3 separate regions of the Homo sapiens genome follow, and regions 1 and 2 are each linked to region 3. The links are contacts of gene promoters, found by promoter capture Hi-C in blood cells and fetal thymus (Javierre and others, 2016). All regions are on one chromosome and are shown on one strand. Each heading gives the region's core, a stretch centred on a gene start or on the middle of the fragment in contact. The rest is flanking DNA. Distances are from core to core; before and after follow the strand shown.

What was found. Contacts are between HindIII fragments. The CHiCAGO score rates a contact against its expected background, and 5 or more counts as called.
Region 1: a fragment that was not itself captured here is called in contact with the fragment with the promoter of SLC22A13 in region 3 in 1 of 17 cell types (M1 macrophages); the score reaches 5.5 in M1 macrophages.
Region 2: a contact is called between a fragment that was not itself captured here and the fragment with the promoter of SLC22A13 in region 3, in 2 of 17 cell types (erythroblasts and M1 macrophages). The highest score is 5.3, in erythroblasts.

What each region holds. Positions count from the first base shown.
Region 1 is chr3:38,474,870-38,478,222 of GRCh38, forward strand. It overlaps ACVR2B (activin A receptor type 2B), which reads left to right. Exons shown (of 11, transcript NM_001106.4): 2 at 2,418-2,625; 3 at 2,992-3,101; 4 at 3,272-3,353. Among named protein-coding and RNA genes, the nearest start is that of EXOG, 20 kb to the right of the region's middle. RefSeq lists an enhancer at 1,683-2,182. The HindIII fragment of the contact is 9,698 bases long and covers 1-3,353 here.
Region 2 is chr3:38,101,178-38,104,834 of GRCh38, forward strand. The region is part of intron 19 of DLEC1 (DLEC1 cilia and flagella associated protein); the gene reads left to right. It overlaps LOC105377033 (a long non-coding RNA gene), which reads right to left. Exons shown (of 2, transcript XR_940727.3): 2 at 2,313-2,616. Among named protein-coding and RNA genes, the nearest start is that of ACAA1, 34 kb to the right of the region's middle. The HindIII fragment of the contact is 1,256 bases long and covers 1,218-2,473 here.
Region 3 is chr3:38,264,453-38,267,738 of GRCh38, forward strand. SLC22A13 (solute carrier family 22 member 13) reads left to right here and starts at 1,360. Exons shown (of 10, transcript NM_004256.4): 1 at 1,360-1,786. The coding sequence starts at 1,409. RefSeq lists a silencer at 346-640. The HindIII fragment of the contact is 6,926 bases long and covers 1-2,761 here.

The sequences.
Region 1 (3,353 bases), core at 353-2,852, 210 kb after region 3:
GGTAACTTCCGACTTACGCTAAGCCTAGAAGCCAAACACATTCAAGGGTGTGACATTATGGTGTGGCTGCAGTGAGGGGAGGAAGGTAGGGGAGTGCCCAGCTTCCCTGTCTGCAGTGCAGCTTCATGGCTGGCCCCACAAGTCTCAGGTCTCCACGGACCCCCACTAGAACTGCTGCCGTGGATGCAGTGGGGCCCAGCCTGGGGAGAGGAGGCCCTGTGGCCTCTGGGCAGGGTGCTTCGAATAACCCAGTAATTGGGTGCTGCTGCAGGCAGACAGGGACAATGTAGGTGCAAGCCTCAGTCCTGGCCCCGGTGTGCTTGTTCAGCCTTTGGTCTACTACCCCCACCCCACCCTCTCAGGTTCTCCCTCTAAACCTTAAAGCCACATGCTTGATGAAGGGCCTGGCTGGGGAAGCCAGTGTGTACCCTTGTAAGCCTCTCTGTGGACCCTGAGGCCCTTCCTTTAGAAGAGGCTGAGTCCCAGCTGACTGACTGGTCAGGAGGCCATGCATTTTCCTTTCACAGGTGTCAGAGCCTAGGCCACCTGGTGCAGGATGACCAGAGCTGTGGCTGGGCACTGCCATTCTGATTGGGTGACATTTCGGACCCTTAGGTGCTACCTGGATCCTTGAGATTCGTTGCTTGCTCCTGCCCCTGGAAGAAGCATCCTGTCACTTCAGGGAGTTGCAGAAAGGGGTTGGGTTTGACAGGAGAATGGCCGCTCCAGTGGTGGGGGGCTTCTTTCACCTGACAGCCAGTCAGTATCCTTCTCTCTGGGGTATACCCTGGGAAATCAAGCTCTTTCCTCATGAAGGCCAACAGTAGGGGTGGAGATGAGCGTGAGGATGTCCTTAGGCTACGCTAGTGTTCAGGGTACTTTGCCCTCCCCCAGGGTCAGGGCAGGGTTCGTGTTCTTTCCTACTCCAGTCAGCCTTTCAGGCTGATGGCGAAGTAGGGCTCTTGGCTGCTGGTGGGCTGGCTGTCTGGTGGGATTGACTCTGACCCCTCCCTCCTTCCTGGGATGGGAATAGTGGTAGGAGAAGACCAGCCAGGAGTGGTGCCAGGTCACTGGCCTATGTGGGCCCAAAAAGTGTGGATAGGATGGCTGGATGCTTGGTGCAACTATCCTCTCGGGTGTCTGTGTGGGGTTCTGGCAGTGAGGTTGTAAATGCCACCACCTGCCTCCATTGTGGGCGGCCTATAATGGGGTGCTGGCAGAGCTCTCAGACAGAACCGAACCTCCTTTGGCATCTCCATACTCTTTCCTATGTCAGGGCTATGTGGTTCCTGCGGGTAGTGGGAGTAGACTGGGGCTGGGACTGGAGGTTGTTTTGTAGGGGATGGTGAGGAAGATGGATTTGGGGAATGTTTGAAATCAAGTTTGAAGGAAAGTGTTTGAATGGGCAGGTGGGGGTTGAAGTCGTTGTCCACCTGGATGGCACTTCCTGCAGCAGGTGGAAGGGGGTTCAGAAGTGATGGGGAGTGCCCTGGGGTCATCAGGAGCCTAGCCAGGAGAATGATCTGTGATTGCAGGTTAAGCCACCAGCTAGCTCTCCTCTGCCTGAGGCATGTATTCCCCTTGGTGACTCTGGGAGGCTTACCCTGTACACGCAGGCCTCATTCCTTAAGTTCTCCAGCCCTGCCGAGCACCAGGTGTGGTTGCTGGGTGTAGAAAGGACACTTACAGGGTCCTTTCCATTCCGTATGGGCAGGGAGTTGTGGAGGACCCACTGGCATGGTCTCCCTGGGGAACTGTTGTGAGAAGGGGGCTTGGGGGCAGAGACAGGAGCAGCAGGAAGCCACTCCCCTTTGTAGTTTTCCCAGGTGGTCCTTGAGATCTTTATCACAATCACCTGAGACAGACAGGGGTGATTAAAAGCACATATTCTGCCCCCATTCCCATTGGGATGGGTCTGGATTGGGCCTGGAAATACGTATTTGAATGAACACTGCTCCCCTTTCCCACACCTGCAACATACAGTGATTCCGATGTGCACTGGGGTTTTAAGGGGGCCTCTTCATCGGTTTCTGCTGCAGCAGGGAAGTAGCCCCCACCCCCACGCAGGAGCCTCAGGTGTTGGTGCCCTTTCTGTGCATCTGGACTCTGTCTGTCTGGCTGTTTATCCATCCTTCTGTGGCATTAGGTTTCCTGCCTCCTCCCTTTTGCTTAGGCCTAGGGGCAGCTGTGATGGGCTGCAGAATGAGGTGGGGGCTGGTGCCAGCTGGCACACGTAAATTAAGAGGTGTGGGACGGATGGGTGGCCTACGTCCAGGGGTGAGTGCAGGAGGTTGGTGACCCCAACCCACCACCCGGCCTCCCTCCCTCAGGGTGGCCTGGCACCCAGGACTGGGAGTAGGGGTTTGGGTGGTGGTCCCAGGGGCATGCTCAGTGGTTCTCTTTTCTCTGGGGCACAGGCTCTGGGCGTGGGGAGGCTGAGACACGGGAGTGCATCTACTACAACGCCAACTGGGAGCTGGAGCGCACCAACCAGAGCGGCCTGGAGCGCTGCGAAGGCGAGCAGGACAAGCGGCTGCACTGCTACGCCTCCTGGCGCAACAGCTCTGGCACCATCGAGCTCGTGAAGAAGGGCTGCTGGCTAGATGACTTCAACTGCTACGATAGGTACCCCAAGACTTGCCCTCCTTTCCTCTTGGACCCACCTGCGCTTATACTGCCCACTGGGCCATTTGGGTCTCAGGATGTCTGAGTGGGAGATAAAGGACCAAGAAGGGGCTCTTGAGATGGTAGCCATGGCCCCACGCCCTTCCACACCCTATTTGTCCTACCTTAGCCCTGAGGAGGGGTCTCAGTGTCAACCCCTGGCTGTTCTTCCTTGGCTTTGGGTCTCCTGTAGGGGAGGTGAGTTCACACCGTCCCCCTGGTGTTGCCCATGAGGTGCTCTGTCTGTGAGGAGGGGTTGGCAGGGCAGGCCTGGGGGAGTCTTGCATCCCCCAGGTGAGGGGTATATGGAAAATTCTGTGCCTCCAGGCAGGAGTGTGTGGCCACTGAGGAGAACCCCCAGGTGTACTTCTGCTGCTGTGAAGGCAACTTCTGCAACGAACGCTTCACTCATTTGCCAGAGGCTGGGGGCCCGGAAGGTAAGGGGGCAGTGTGGAAGTGGGGCCTTGAGTCAGCCGACCTGGGCTTCTTTGGCTTGGAGCGCTTGGCTCCTCAGTTGGGTGGGGTGTGGCTACAGGGCCCTGTAGTCTGGCTCTGGAAGTGTGAGGGTGGGCAGACTGTTTGACACAGGGCTCTGTGTGTCCCCCAGTCACGTACGAGCCACCCCCGACAGCCCCCACCCTGCTCACGGTGCTGGCCTACTCACTGCTGCCCATCGGGGGCCTTTCCCT
Region 2 (3,657 bases), core at 596-3,095, 160 kb before region 3:
CTGGGCATGGTGGCTCACGCCTGTAATCCCAGCACTTTGGGAGGCCGAGGCAGGCAAATCACGAGGTCAGGAGTTCGAGATCAGCCTGGCAACATGGTGAAACCCCGTCTTTACTAAAAATACAAAAATTAGCCAGGTATGGTGGTGCTCGCCTGTAGTCCCAGCTACTTAGGAGGCTGAGGCAGAAGAATCACTTGAATCCTGGAGGCAGAGGTTGCAGTGAATGAATATATATATATATTCATTTTCTTAAGCTGGCTGGTGATAATATTTTGTTTCTAAAGTTGTGTGGAGGTAGTACATAGATGTTGTTTTATTATTCGTTAAACTATATATATGTTTAAACTGTATATATGTTTTATACTCATTTTTGCATATATTTGGTGTTTCATTGTAAAAACATTTAAATGCTCATTTAAATCTCTGTGGATGCTCTTGAATTATCCTCCAAAAAGACTGTGTCATTTTATACTTCTGCCTACAGTGTGTGAGACTAGCCATTACCCCACACTTTCACCATGACAAATGTTGTTGGACTTTGTATACTTGACCATCTGACAGTTGTTCAAATGTCCCCTCCTGTGATAACAAATACAGGTCTAGGTATGAGTCTTTGCATTGGTCCTTCAGGGCAATTTGCGGGCATTAGATGTGAAGGCTAAGTCTGCCTGCAGCTCAGGGGAAGGGCTTTCTATTAAGTCTGTGCTTATTTCCTTTCCTTTTCTGTCTCTGTTCTTTCTCCTGAAAGGACCTTGTATTATCAGAATGTTTACAGTAGCAGGTGATGGAAACACAGACATTACCAACTTAGGCAAAAAAGAGGAAGCATTGGCTCACGTAACTGGGCATTCCCACCTTGCTGAATCCAAGGGCCCAACACTTTTCCCTTTGTCTGGTCTTCTGCTTCCTCTCTTTCTCTACCCTCTTTCCCCCTTCTCTACCTCCATCCCAGCCCCAACCCATCTACTGCTCTTTTTTTGTGGGCCCTTCTCTCCCCTATTGACAAGGGCCCTTCGCACTCTGCCTTGGGGAGAGGCCACTTAGAGCTCCAGGCTCACACACTCCCACCTTAACAATCTCTGAGAGCCAATCTGGCTCTTTGCAGAGATAGGCCCTGATTGCTCTTGCTCTTGTGTGGGTCATGTACCCGCCCCTTCCCCTGCTGGGTGACAGGGAGGATCTGTCTCCAGAAGAGGCAATCATGTTTCGAAATTTCAAGCTTTGTTGTTCTTGCGTCTTTCCTTTTCTATAGTAATCTGTTATAGTCTTATCAATGCAACAGCCTCTCAGATTCCCCCAAGAAAATGAATTTCTGTTTTCCCAGATGTTGGAGTTCTTCTTTACTTTTTGAGTTTTCTTCTGCTTCTAGTAATCTTTGCCTGTCCAGTCCTGTTTTTGAATGGAGGAGGAAGTTGATTTGCATAAGGAGCTGGTGTTGTAAGTTTCTTCTGAGTAAAAGGGGGTAGATGTGGAGAGCACCCCTATTCTAAGGGATGAAGTACATGTGAGTCACCACCCTCAGAGCACACAGCTAGCCTGAATCCATCAGAGAAAGGGACCTTTGGGGAAAACAGCCCTAAACAAACAGTGGAGAAAACCCATACTGGGCAGCTACACAAATCAATTCGTGCCTTCATTCATAAATAAGAATGAAGGAATAGCATCTTTCTGGTTGTTTCCTCCTCATGACAGTTGAGAGGTCCAGTGTTACTGCAGGCTCTGCCCTGGCCTCTCTCCAGCGTGATACCCACAGTCTTCAGTGGGGGCAAATACTGTGGCAGCCCAGTCTTTTTCTTAATTTTCAATTTTAATTTTTATTATTTGTACAAATTTATGGGGTACATGTGCAATTGTGTTATGTGCGTAGATTATATAGTGGTCAAGTCAGGGCTTTAGGGTATCCATCACCCAAATAGCATACATTGTACTCATGAACTAATTTCTCATCACCCATTTCCCTCCTATGCCCTCACCCTTCCGAGTCTCCGTTGTCTATCATTCCAATCTCTATGTCCATATGTACACGTTTTTAGCACCCACTTGAGTGAGATCATGTGATATTTGACTTCTGTGCCTGGGGCAGCCCACTCTTCCATGTGTTGCTCTGAGCTCTGGGGCTGGAGCCCTGACCTGGCTAAGCCAATGGATCTTCAGCAGTGCTTTGCTCAGCTCCCCCGCCCTTTGATGCCCTCATTCCATCATTAAGGATTGCATTGCACGTAACCTGTGCAGGGATTTCAAGCAGCAGTTTTGTTCTCCTCTGTTTTATCAGTTAACCTGATCACATTATTTCTTTCTCCTATTTTCTTTTCCTTGTTTGCATAACATTTTATTTGCTTTATTATCTTTTACTTCAAAATTTTCACAAATAGGGCATTTGCTAGATATTACATTTCTTTGCATTCACAATTTGTCTGTTTGGCACAAAGCTAGCTTTCTGCCTGTGTCAGCTTTGAATGTGCCTTCCTCACTAAGCTTAATCATTTTTTAGCTTAATCATTTTGATTTAAAGTGAGATACGTACGACTCTTCTTTTCACTTGAAGACTTAGAGGCTATTGTAGGGTTATCAGTTGGTCTAATTTCAATATTGTTGTGTCTCAAGGAATAGGGAGGCCTGAGGAGAGGGAGAGAGACGGAAATGACCAGTAAGTAGAGCAGTCAAAATGCACACAGCATTTACCAGTTGAGCCCATTATCGTATATGATTGCTGTTTATGGCACCCCAAAACAATTACAGTAGTAACATCAAAGATCACTAATCACAGGTTACCATAACAGCTATAGCAAAAAAGTTTGCAAGACATGACACAGAGACATGAAATGAGGACATGCAATTGGAAAAATGACATTGATAGGCTTGCTCAATGCAGCGTTGTCACAAACCTTCGATTTGTAAAAATCACAGTATCTGTGAAGTACAATAAAGCAGAGCATAATAACATGAGGTATGTTTGTAACTGAATTTCTTATATAGGTCAATTTAGACTTTTTTCTTGGCCAGGCACAGTGGCTCATGACTGTAATCCCAGCACTTTGGGAGGCTGAGGTGGACGGATCACCTAAGGTCAGGAGTACGAGACCAGGCTAGCCAACATGGTGAAACCCCATTTCTACTAAAAATACAAAAATTAGCCGGGTGTGGTGGTGCACACCTGTAATCCCAGCTACTCGGGAGGCTGAGGCATGAGAATAGCTTGAACGTGGGAGGCAGAGGCTGCAGTGAGCCGAGATTGTGCCACTGCACTCCAGCCTGGGCAACAGAGCAAGACTCTGTATGCCCCACCCCATCCCCCCAAAAAAAGATTTTTTTTTTTTTCTCAGTTTTGGTAGTTTGCATCACTCTAGGAATTTAGGAATTTGTCCATTTTATCTGTGATGTAATTTGTTGGTACATAGTTGTTAGTGGTATTCTCTGATAATTATTTTTATTTCTGTATGATCAGTAGTGATGTCCCCACTTTCATTCCTGATTTCTCTAATTTGAATCTTCAGCAAATTTTTCTTGGTCAGTCTAGTCTAGCTAAAGGTTTATCAATGTTGGTGATATTTTCAAAGAACCAGCTTTTGCTTTTGTTGATTTTCTGTAATGTTTTTCTATTTTCTATTTCATTTATCTCTGCTTTCTAGTCTTTATTATTTCTGTCCTTCCACTTGC
Region 3 (3,286 bases), core at 110-2,609:
AACAGGCTTCCAGCAGCTGTGCCAGTCAGGTGGCCAGGGCTGCCCTGCACAACCTTGCTTCCTTGCATTCCCTTCAGCAATGTTCCTCTGCTCATGCCTTAAAATAGTTCAAAATTGAGAACATGAAAATGCTTTCTTATGCATACACAAGCAGACATGAATATGTGTATGCACCTGGTGTGTGTGTGGGCTGTGGTGGAGGCATACTTTGTCTTGTGTTCATTGTCACTGACATTGCTCAGGGAGGCTGGGGTACGTGCATTTGTTTTCATCTTTAGAGTGTGTTAATGGTTTCCTTCTTGATTAAAGTAGAGCTCAAAATGCAGCTCTGTCATTGCTCTGTATTCTTGGTTTGTCTTTGATGTTGAAAAGACAGTGCACTTGTGCTTTTGGTGGGGCTCCTGGCCTGCATGCTGCTTCCTAGGATTGGCAGGTATTGCATATCACCACATACCAGACACCCACAGGAGAGAAAAATCATCAGGATCAAGAGGCCAGATTGGGCTGCTGGCAAAGTTTATCTGCAGGCTAAGTGCTTGTTGCTCTCCTGCTTATCCATGCTGCCTAGTGTGGGCTGTCCCTAGAAGGGAATTCTGTGTCCCTCTGAGTGCTGCAACTACTCTCAGGGTTTTACTGTAGTGGTTTTACCTCGCCTATTGGTTGACCCATCTACCTGTCTCATTTGAGTTGAGTGTGAATTGTTTAGGATATTGCAATTAGAGGTGGTGCGGGCTGGCTGGTTGCTATAAGCCATCTTAACATTTGGCTAAGCTCACTCCTGTGTGCTGGGCCTGACAAGGTCCTCTTGGTTCCTCTTGTGATGACTGTATCTTTTACACAGTTAATAAAACATCCTCAGATGTTATAAGCTGGAGTGAACTATTTATTTTTCTATTTTTTTTATTTTACTTTAAGTTCTGGGATACATGTGCTGAATGTGCAGGTTTGTTACATAGATATACATGTGCCATGGTGGTTTGCTGCACCTATCAACCCATCATCTAGGTTTTAAGCCTCACATGCATTAGATATTTGTCCTAATGCTCTCCCTCCCCTTGTCCCCCACCCCCTGACAGGCCCTGGTATGTGATGTTCCCCTCCCTGTGTCCATGTGTTCTCATTGTTCAACTCCCACTTATGAGTGAGAACATGCGGTGTTTGGTTTTCTGTTCCTGTGTTAGTTTGCTGAGGATGATTGTTTCCAACTTCATCCATGTGGACTATTTTTTCATCATATTCTACCCTTCCCAAGTCACACCTAGGGGGCTGAGGAGTGACAGGTGGAGCAGGGCAAGGCTGGATTAAACATTAATGCAGCTATCACCACTGCCCAGAGGAGCAAGTTCCCAGAGCCAAGCTACAGAGCTACCCTAGTGTCCCCAGGCTGAGGAGGTAGTGACTGGCATACATGGCTCAGTTTGTCCAGGTCCTGGCTGAAATAGGTGACTTTGGTCGCTTCCAGATACAGCTATTGATCCTGCTGTGTGTTCTCAACTTCCTGTCTCCCTTCTACTTTTTTGCCCATGTCTTCATGGTCCTAGATGAGCCCCACCACTGTGCAGTGGCTTGGGTGAAGAACCACACTTTCAACCTGAGTGCTGCTGAACAGCTGGTACTGAGCGTGCCCCTGGACACTGCAGGTCACCCAGAGCCCTGCCTCATGTTCCGGCCACCCCCCGCCAATGCCAGCCTGCAGGACATCCTCAGCCACCGCTTCAATGAGACGCAGCCTTGTGATATGGGCTGGGAATATCCTGAGAACAGGCTCCCATCCCTGAAGAATGAGGTAGGCTTGTCCTTTTGCTGGTCTCTCCACCGGTTGTGGGTCTGTCAGGTCTTGTGCCTGACTCTTCGCCCTCAGTCACTGGCTCTGTATCTGCCCCATGCCCATATGGTCAACCATGGGCACATATGTTTTTCATTTTGTCAATCTCATTTTCCTCTTTGTCCTCTGCCTATTGACCCATCTGTCTGTCATCTTCTCTGTCCAGTCTGTCTGCCCATCTGTCCATTTTTTGCCCATCCTTCTGTCGTCTCTGTCTTTCCTTGTCTCTCTGGCTATCTACCCAGTTGGTGTCCTCTCCTCTTTTCCTATCTTTGTGCCTTTCTCTCTACCCAGTGTGCTCATCTGTCTGTCCAGTTCTCTTTGTCTTTCAGTCTACCCCTGCATGTCTGCCTATGTTCCTATTTTCCTAACCCTCTAATGCCATCCCTTTCCCTGTCCATTTCACTGCCTTCCTGCTTGCTGGGCTTCAAAACTTTCAGCTTTTCTCTCTAGGTCTCTGCCAGCCTGCCCTTGGGACGCTGGAGAACATCCAGGACTCTAGGACTTGTCCTGTGGATAACTAAGCGTTCATTCTTGCTAACTTCATTCTTTTAGGAGAGATGCAGGCAGAAAAGTTCCCATCCTAGCCACCTCCGAGCAAGAGGGGCCCTCTGAAAGCATCCAGTCCCACTCTGTTGCTTCCCAGATGTTGGGGTTGAGGCACAGAATGAGGATATGGCTTAGCCAGGGCAATGCAGTGAGCTGATCATGGAGCTGGGGCTCTCATGCCAGATACCTGCTGTCTAGATTCCCACAGGAGTGTGAGGCAGCACAGATAGTCCAGAAACCTGAGGGGCATGGGTGCTTGAGGGGATCTGTATAATTCTCATCTTCTTTATGGTGGAAAATCTGGGATTAAACATTCACTTCTTCCCCACCCCATGGCTGAAAAAGTATTTATTTTTAGAGGTTGTCAGAGACCAATGTGTTAACCAAAGCTTAACTTTCACTTTTTAATGTGTGACCATAAAACTGCTCCCAGAAGCCTGGCAGCCTGCGGATATGTCCTGCCTGTCCTTCTCCCAACTCTCCCCCACCCCACCCCACCCCACACCACAGGGAGCTCTAGGGAGCCTGTGCATGCTCCCAGGCTCTGAGGCTGGCCAGCTTAGCCCCTTCTGACCCTTACTGTCCTCTCCATCATCTCCCCAGCATCACATCCATGGCTGGTGCCAGCCTTCACCAGCCCTAACGTGTTGTGATATGCCTGTATGTGTTAAACTCTCTGCCCACCTGGCCAAATATCATCATTCTCAAAGCCCAGAAAACCTTCCAGATTGCTCACAGACTACTCTAGGCCTTCTTCACACCCCATGCTGGACTGTTCATGCAACCGTATTCAGCCAAAGGCCCCTGAGGATTAACTGTGCGGGGAAGTCAGAGGGGAAAGGTACTTTGTTCCTCTAGTGGTCAGGAAAGGTCTGGGCCCCTTGCAGAGGAATAAAGGGCTGGGCGGGTTCT